3 separate regions of the Homo sapiens genome follow, and regions 2 and 3 are each linked to region 1. The links are contacts of gene promoters, found by promoter capture Hi-C in blood cells and fetal thymus (Javierre and others, 2016). All regions are on one chromosome and are shown on one strand. Each heading gives the region's core, a stretch centred on a gene start or on the middle of the fragment in contact. The rest is flanking DNA. Distances are from core to core; before and after follow the strand shown. Region 1 has its middle 3.7 kb from the start of ZNF77. Region 2 holds the start of GNA11 (G protein subunit alpha 11). Region 3 holds the start of GNA15 (G protein subunit alpha 15).

Region 1 (2,700 bases), core at 14-2,513:
GAAAAGGGAAGTTTATTCTTACTGATAAAATGTCAATCACTGTGTATGATTGTAATGGGCAAGGAAGGCATTTAGCGAGCTAGAAGACATTGATGGCTCAGAAAAAGGTGTCCTTGGCAAAAATACTGTTTTCTGTTAATTTTCCAACTGATACCATCTGGGTCTGTCCTCCCAGCCTGATGAATGTGTAGGCAGATACTTTCTCAGTCGGAGTTGATTTTTATTATCTTGATTGCTGCATCCTGTGCACAGAGGTTTTCTGCTCAGCTGGGCTTCATCCTGGGGTCCCAGTCCTGGCCCCAAGCCTTAATCAGCTCTCGGGTGATATTAGGCAAGTTGCCAAGCCCCTAAGTGCCTCAGTTTCCAGGTCTGTAAAATACATAACATTACCTGCATTTGTCAAATAGTGCTGTGTGTGGATTATTATTGGCAGCTCATCATCACCATTATCACCCTCCTGTAAACGTCTTGGACCCCTTAAGTGAAGACAGCAGGGTTACGGCGGATAAAATGATGGACTTCAGAGAAAAGACTCTAAGACCAAATAGAGTCTAAAGCAGTGATTATCAAAGAGGGGAGGAGAAATTTTACGCCCAGGGGACACTGGACAATGTCTGCAGACTTGGTTGTCACAACCGGGGATGGGGTTGGGGCGACTGGCATCCAGTGGATGAGGAGGTCTAGGGTGCTGCTCAACACCCTGCAATGAATAGCACGCCAGTCTTTTGGATTTGAGCCCACCTTAATCTCATTTTAATCGAATTGCCTCTTTAAAGGCCTATCTTCAAATACCTTCTGAGGTACTGTGGGTTAGGCCTTCACCTTACGGATTTGTGGGGACGCAATTCACCCGTTAACGCTATACATACACAAAAATTCATAGACTACACCTCAAAAGAAAAATTCAACATGACCATATAATACTATAAAATAAAAGAAGATGCAATACCTGGTTTGGGGTTGGATCTTCGGAGGACCAGCTGTAAAGACCATTTGGGGTATAATTGAAGGAAATACGATTATGGGCTAGGTATAAAGGAATGATTGTTAACTATCTAAAGTGCGAATATGAAGTGTGGACTTTTAGATAAAAATACAGATTTTTCTCTAAAATAGCATTTGGGAGGTGTTTAAGAGCAGAGTGTTACAGTGTCCTCAATTTACTTTTTTTTTTTTTTTTGAGACGGAGTCTCGAGCTGTCGCCCAGGCTGGAGTGCAGTGGTGTGATCTCGGCTCACTGCAGCCTCCACCTCCCGGGTTCAAGTGATTCTCCTGCCTCACCCTCCCGAGTAGCTGGGACTACAGGTGCCCGCCACCACACCCAGCTAATTTTTGTATTTTTAGTAGAGATGGGGTTTCACCATCTTGGCCAGGCTACTCTTGAACTCCTGACCTCGTGACCCGCCTGCCTCGGCCTCCCAAAGTGCTGGGATTACAGGCGTAAGCCACTGCCCCCAGCCACTCAATTGACTTTGAAATAATTCTTTTTTTTTTTTTTTTTTTGAGACAGAGTTTTGCTCTGTTGCCCAGGATAGAGTACAATGGCGTGATCTCAGCTCAACGCAAGCTCCGCCTCCTGGGTTCACGCCATTCTCCTGCCTCAGCCTTCCGAGTAGCTGGGACTACAGGCACTCGCCACCACGCCCAGCTGATTTTTTGTATTTTTAGTAGAGACGGGGTTTCACCATGTTAGCCAGGATGGTCTTGATCTCCTGACCTTGTGATCCGCCCAACTCGGCCTCCCAAAGTGCTGGGATTACAGACGTGAGCCACCGCACCCTGCGACTTTGAAATAATTCTATGTAGATATTGGCTGTCAGTCGGCTAGAACAATTGATCAGGAAACATCTCTGTCTTCACAAATTACCTGATATGTTGAGTAATGTGAGTATAACACGAATTTCATATTTGTTTATGTTCAGTTTCAACCCTAAGAAACACTAAGTGAACAGAAGAAATTGCACATAACTGAAGAGTCTGGTAGGAAAACAGAAAATGCGCGCACACACCTCAAATACCAAGTCACACTGTTTCCTCTGCTTTAAAACTTAACATTAGATTTCCGACAACCCTCTCTCCACCACTGCATACTAACTCTGGAAATTTAGATTCCCTTGCCCAATTCCACAAGCAACCTTTGGATCTTCTGCAAGGTACGTTGCTACATTTATTATAGTATTTATGTGTTTCTTTTCCTTTTTTTTTTTTTTTTTTTGAGACAGAGTTTTGATCTTGTTGCCCAGGCTGGAGTGCAGTGGCATGATCTCGGCTCACTGCAACCTCCACCTCCTGGGTTCAAGTGATTCTCCTGCCTCAGCCTCCCGATTAGCGGGGGTTCCAGGCATTTGCCACCATGTCCAGCTCATTTTTGTATTTTTAGTAGAGATGGGGTTTCTCCATGTTTGTCAGGGTGGTCTCGGACTTTGGACCTCAGGTGATCTGCCCACCTTGGCATCCCAAAGTGCTGGGATTACAGGCGTGAGCCACCGCGCCCGGCCTATTTATGTGTTTCTTAATGATGTAAGGTGAAAAGCTGTGCTACTGTTTACTTCTTCAGGGACTCTGATAATAGGCATGTTTTTCTTTCCTGTCTTTTGTTCCCACTGCTTCCTCTCTGACAGTTATTCCACTGTTTCCTATCACTTCCAATTTCTTTGTAGTTTCCTTGCCTCTTATCTTTGACACAATGTGAGTATCCTA
Region 2 (2,700 bases), core at 188-2,687, 150 kb before region 1:
GGACTCAGCGTGGCTCCCACCAGGACTCTAAGGAAGGGGGCGGGGGAGGCTGCCGAGATAGCTGCTTGGGACAACAAGCAAAGGCTCCCTCAGGTGTCAACCGCCCCACCCTCAGCTGAGCGGAACCCTGAGGAGAGGAAAGACTGTCTTTTTCCCACAGGGTGCATTCCAGCCAAGAGGAGTACGGGGTTTCCCGGAACAGGAAGGCAGGAGAATGGCCCTGAAGGGAATGTGGGGATAGGGGACACGGAGGAGTCTTCGGGGGGATGGGGGGGTGTACAGGGCCTGCATGGAGGGTACAGGGCCTGCATGGAGTGTACAGGGCTCTGCCTGGAGGGAAGGGTCAACGCGGGGCCCTGAGCAGTGAGGGGTGAGTGTGCCCTGTGGGTTACAGCCCAAAGGTCTGGCCCTGAAGGGGTAGCGAGGGGTGGGTACTCCGGTGGGGTAAGGTCAGAAGGTCCCTGTGCAGGGAGGGACTGGTCCCTTGAGAAGGAACAGAGGGCAAATCCTGAAGAGTCCTGGAGGCCCAATGTAGACAGCAGAAGCTGGGAGCTGACCTAGGAGTGATCGGGGGCCTGATCCAGACAGGACAGACACAGGCTGACACCGGAGAGTCCCAGGTGCCAACATGAACAGTTAAGGCAGGGGCTGACCCCAAAGAAATCAGGGGCCCGCAGCTGACCCCGGAGGGTCCCAGGTGCCGACCTAGACAGCAAAGGCAGGGCTGACCCCAGAGGGTCCCGAGCCGACCCAGACGACACAGGCAGGGCTGATCCCGGAGGGCCCCGCCCCGACCCGGACAGGCAGTGAAGGCACAGGCAGGGCTGACACTCGAGGGTCCCGCGACCCGGACAGGCAGGGAAGGCACAGGCAGGGCTGACCCCGGAGGGTCTCGCGACCCGGACGGCACAGGCAGGGCTGACCCCGGAGGGTCCCGGCCCGACCCGGACAGGCAGGGCAGGCACAGGCAGGGCAGGGCCCGCAGCCGGCAGGCCCGGGGGCCGCACTCACCGAGCAGCAGCAGCTTGAGCTCGCGCCGGGCGTCGCGCTTGTCCCGCCGCAGCTGCTTCTCGATCTCGGCGTTGATCCGCTTGGACTCCTTCACCTCATCGCTCAGGCAACACGCCATCATGGACTCCAGAGTCATCGTCCCGGCCCCGGCCGACGCGGCCGCCTGCCCGCCGCCGCCCCCCGGCCCCCGGCCCGGCCCTGGCCGGAGCCGCCTCGGCCGCCGCCCGCCGCGGCCCTCCGGCCTCGGCCACCGGCCCTCGGCCCCGGGCCGGCCCGCCCCGCCTCGGCCGCCGCCTGGCGAGCCGCCGGGTCCCCGCTCGGGCCGCGCCAGCCGCGGACTCCCGCGCGGCCGCACTCAGCCCGCGCCGCCGCCGCAGCCACCGCCAACCGCAGCCGCCGCAACCGAGCGACAGCGCCGGACAACCTAGCAGGCTGGGAGCGCAGCCCGCGACGGGCAGACGGTGCGGCCAATGGGAGGGGCCGGCGGCCAAGCGCGCCCACCATGGGGGCGGGACTAGCGGCCTGGGCGGGGCGTCGGCGGGCGCGAAAGGGGCGGGGCGGGGCGAGGGCGGGGGGCCCGCGGGTTTGGTTGCGCCGACGTGGGAAGGGGGACGCGCAGCCGGGAGCCGGGGCGGGGCCGCCCGGGATTGTGGGAATGTGGCGGACTCGGCCCGGCCAGGCTCGGCTCCGCTCGGCTCCGTTCGGCCCCGCTCGGTCCCGCTCGGCTCGGCCCAGGCGCGGTGGCGGAGGCGCGCACGCGGCCGCTGCGCTCTCTGGGTCTCCAGGTGCCTGGGCAGCAGTCGCTGCCCCCGGGAAGCGCCCTGACATTGCCTGACAGGAACCTTCACTCATCCATTAAAAAGCGTTAATGGAGGTCGGGCGCGGTGGCTCACGCCTGTAATCCCAGCACTTTGGAAGGCCGAGGCGGGCGGATCACCTGAGGTCTGGAGTTCGAGACCAGCCTGACCAACAGGGAGAAACGCCGTCTCTACTAAAACTACAAAATTAGCCCGGCGTGGTGGTGCACGCCCGTAATCCCAGCTACTCGGGAGGCTGAGGCAGGAGAATCACTTGAACCCAGGAGGCGGAGGTTGCAGTGAGCCGAGATCACGCCATTGCACTCCAGCCTGGGCAACAAGAACGAAACTCCGTCTCCAAAGAAAAAAAAAAAAAAAGAGGGCCGGGCGCGGTGGCTCACGCCTGTAATCCCAGCACTTTGGGAGGCCGAGGCGGGTGGATCACGAGGTCAGGAGATCGAGACTATCCTGGCTGACACGGTGAAACCCCGTCTCTACTAAAAATACAAAAAATTAGCCGGGCGTGGTGGCGGGCGCCTGTAGTCCCAGCTACTCGGGAGGCTGAGGCAGGAGAATGGCGTGAACCCGGGAGACGGAACTTGCAGTGAGCTGAGATCATGCCACTGCACTCCAGCCTGGGCGACAGAGCGAGACTCTGTCTCAAAAAAAAAAATTAAAAAGCGTTAATGGGACACCTACTGTGTATCAGGCATTAATGGGACACATTCTATATGCCAGGCACGGACCAGAGATTAATGGAGTGCCTGCTGTCCATCAGGTGTCAATCAGGCCTTACTGCAGTGCCTGCACCATTCCAGGCCAGGTATACGCATTCATGAAATGCCTACAGGATACCAGGCACTGCTGTAAGCCCGTTAAGCTAACCCTACCC
Region 3 (2,847 bases), core at 208-2,707, 190 kb before region 1:
TTTAGTAGAGACGGGGCTTCACCATGTTGGCCTGGCTGTGTCTTGAACTCCTGACCTCAAGTGATCCCACCCGCCTGGGCCTCCCAAAGTGCTGAAATCACAGGCTTGAGCCACTGCACCCAGCCAGAGTTCAGAATCTTGAACCGTTACTGACGTCGACTCCCCCATCTGAAGCCTCCGCATGGAAGCCATCACCCTGTTTTGTTTTCTCCTAGATAATTCTTGTTGCCAGAATTATTTTATCTGCTTATGAGTTTACAGACTAAATGTCTTGGCTCCTTCACAGGAAATGAGATCCAGGAAGACAGAAATATCTTCCCCTGTTTGGCTGCCTCGTTCCTGGGAGCTACCCAATAAATCTTAAATGAATGAATAATGAATGAATGAACCAATGAACCAATCAATCCATCCTTTCTAGCCCCCAAAGGAGCCCTAGACAAGCCCTCTCCAGCCATGGCAGGGAGGTAAAGGCGAGAGGGAGCGTCCTGGTGAAGGAGAGGCTGGAGCCGGCCCCTCCCTTACGGGTGGGCTGGCCAGAACGGGTTGCACACCTGAGCTCATCATTCCCTCGCCATGACACAGACAGGTAGGGCGTGCTGGGCCTGCCCGGCAGGGGCCCGGTAGAGCCACGTCTGCTATTGTATATGCCCCACACAGTGGACAGGCCTGGGCACCTGGCCGCTGGTCGCACGTTGGACAAGGAACTTGGCTTCTCTGAACCTCAGTCTTTCTCATCTGGAAAATGGGTTCCAGGCTCCCCATTCCCTGGGAGGAGGCGACGGCTCCACGATGCCAATGTCTGACCTAGCCTGATCCGCCTCCTTGCCCCGACACCCCTGCCGGCTGGCCACCGCCCACTGCCCACCACCCACCGCCCACCGACCCTGGACTCACCCAAAAGCAGCAGCTTCAGCTCCCCGCGGTCCTGCTTCTTCTGCTCCAAGAGGATCCTGTTGATCTCCTGGTCCACCCGGGCGGCGGCCTTCTCATCCTCCGTCAGGCACCAGGGGCAGCAGCGCCAGGTCAGCGAGCGGGCCATGGTGCGGTGGCCTCAGTCGGCACCGGGTGGCATCGCCCCCGGGCCCCTGCTGGCCAGGGCAACCCCCAGCCCAGCCGGCCCTGGAGAGGGCTCCGGGCAACCGGGTGCGCAGGGAGGCTGCCTTTTCCTTGGGGGTCACCCCCCAGGGACCTAGACTTCCTTGCCTGAAACACCCAGGAAGCCCGGCTCGGCGGTGGCAAGGCTTGAGTGCTGGGAACAGGGTGGGGACGGGAGGAGGTGGGGAGGCCAGGGCTCCCCGCCCACCTCCAGACCTGCTCAGACCCGGCCCGACAGGTTGACGGTGAAGGGTGCCAGGAGAGGGTGAGGTGGGGGCCCCAGGGAGGGCGGGGCGGTGGCGGGAAAACCCCCACCGCAGACTGGGTCCTGTGTGACCAGCAGGGCCCTTCTTCCTCCTTCTGGAGAAGGGGCGGATTCTCCTCAGGCTTCACCCGGAGCTGTCCCCCTCCTCGGAGCCAATCAGGAACCGTCAGACCCGTGCTACTGCTGATACATTATATATATATCATATATATATGTGTGTGTATATATATATATGTGTATATATATATATATATATATATATATATATATATATATATATATATATTTTTTTTTTTTTTTTTGAGACAGAGTTTCACTCTTATTGCCCAGGCTGGAGTGCAGTGGCAGGATCTTGACTCTGCAACATCTGCCTCCCAGGTTCAAGCAATTCTCCTGCCTCAGCCTCTCGAGTAGCTGGGATTACAGGCATCCACCACCACGCCGGGCTAACTTTGGATTTTTAGTAGAGAAAGGGTTCCACCACGTTGGCCAGGCTGGTCTCAAACTCCTGACCTCAGGTGATCCACCCGCCTCGGCCTCCCAAAGTGCTGGGATTGCAGGCATAAACCACCACGCTCGGCCCTTCTGATATATTTTTAAGAAACAGCTCAGGCCAGGTGTCATGGACTGTTTCCAGCGACTCTGCCCTGACCTCAGGTGATCCACCCTGCAGAGGTGGGCAGCTTGCCTGAGGTCAGGAGTTCGAAACCAGCCTGGCCAACATGGCGAAACCCTGTCTCTACTAAAGATACAAAAATTAGCCGGGTTTTGGCTCACATTAGCTGGTTTTACACTCACATCACCCTGTATAGTTACTACTGTCATCCCTGTTTGACTGATGAGGAGGTTGAGGCATAGAGCAGGGGAGTGACCGGTGGGGCTGGCACAAGGCAGAGCCGGGAGCCTATCCCTCACCTGCGGGGCCCCAGAGTCTAGACGCCTACCAGGCAGATTCCAGGCAGGGCCATCCCTTCATTGTGCGTGCATTCATGGAGCGCCAACTGTGTGCCAGGCACGGTAGCCAAGAGACACAGATCCCAGACCTCCTTACCTAAGGTTCTAGTTAAAGAACAGATAATAAAATAAATTTTAGGCTGGGCCTGGTGGCTCACGCATGTAATCCCTATACTTTGGGAGGCCAAGGCGGGCAGATCACAAAGTCAAGAAATCGAGACCAGCCTGGCCAACACGGCGAAACCCCGTCTCTACTAAAAATACAAAAATTAGCCGGGCGTGGTGGTGCACGCCTGTAGTCCCACCTACTTGGGAGGCTGAGGCAAGAGAATCGCTTGAACCCGGGAGGCAGAGGTGGCAGTGAGCTGAGATCGTGCCACTGCACTCCAGCCTGGCGACGAAGTGAGACTCCATCTCAAAAAAAATAAAAAATAAAAGAATAAAAAATTTGGCCAGGTGAGTGCGGGAGCTCACATCTGTAATCAAAGTACTTTGGGAGGCCGAGGCAGGAGGATCACTTGAAGTCAGGAGTT

Evidence for each region. Contacts are between HindIII fragments. The CHiCAGO score rates a contact against its expected background, and 5 or more counts as called.
Region 2: a contact is called between the fragment with the promoter of GNA11 here and a fragment that was not itself captured in region 1, in 3 of 17 cell types (total B cells, M0 macrophages and naive B cells). The highest score is 6.2, in total B cells.
Region 3: the fragment with the promoter of GNA15 here is called in contact with a fragment that was not itself captured in region 1 in 1 of 17 cell types (endothelial precursors); the score reaches 5.5 in endothelial precursors.

The regions. Positions count from the first base shown.
Region 1 is chr19:2,947,365-2,950,064 of GRCh38, reverse strand. No RefSeq gene overlaps it. Among named protein-coding and RNA genes, the nearest start is that of ZNF77, 3.7 kb to the right of the region's middle. The HindIII fragment of the contact is 2,883 bases long and covers 1-2,700 here.
Region 2 is chr19:3,093,099-3,095,798 of GRCh38, reverse strand. It overlaps GNA11 (G protein subunit alpha 11), which reads right to left and starts at 1,437. Exons shown (of 7, transcript NM_002067.5): 1 at 1,012-1,437. The coding sequence starts at 1,147. RefSeq lists enhancers at 1-644, 645-1,632 and silencers at 929-1,058, 1,379-1,498, 1,519-1,768. The HindIII fragment of the contact is 9,364 bases long and covers 1-2,700 here.
Region 3 is chr19:3,134,643-3,137,489 of GRCh38, reverse strand. It overlaps GNA15 (G protein subunit alpha 15), which reads right to left and starts at 1,457. Exons shown (of 7, transcript NM_002068.4): 1 at 895-1,457. The coding sequence starts at 1,039. The HindIII fragment of the contact is 24,748 bases long and covers 1-2,847 here.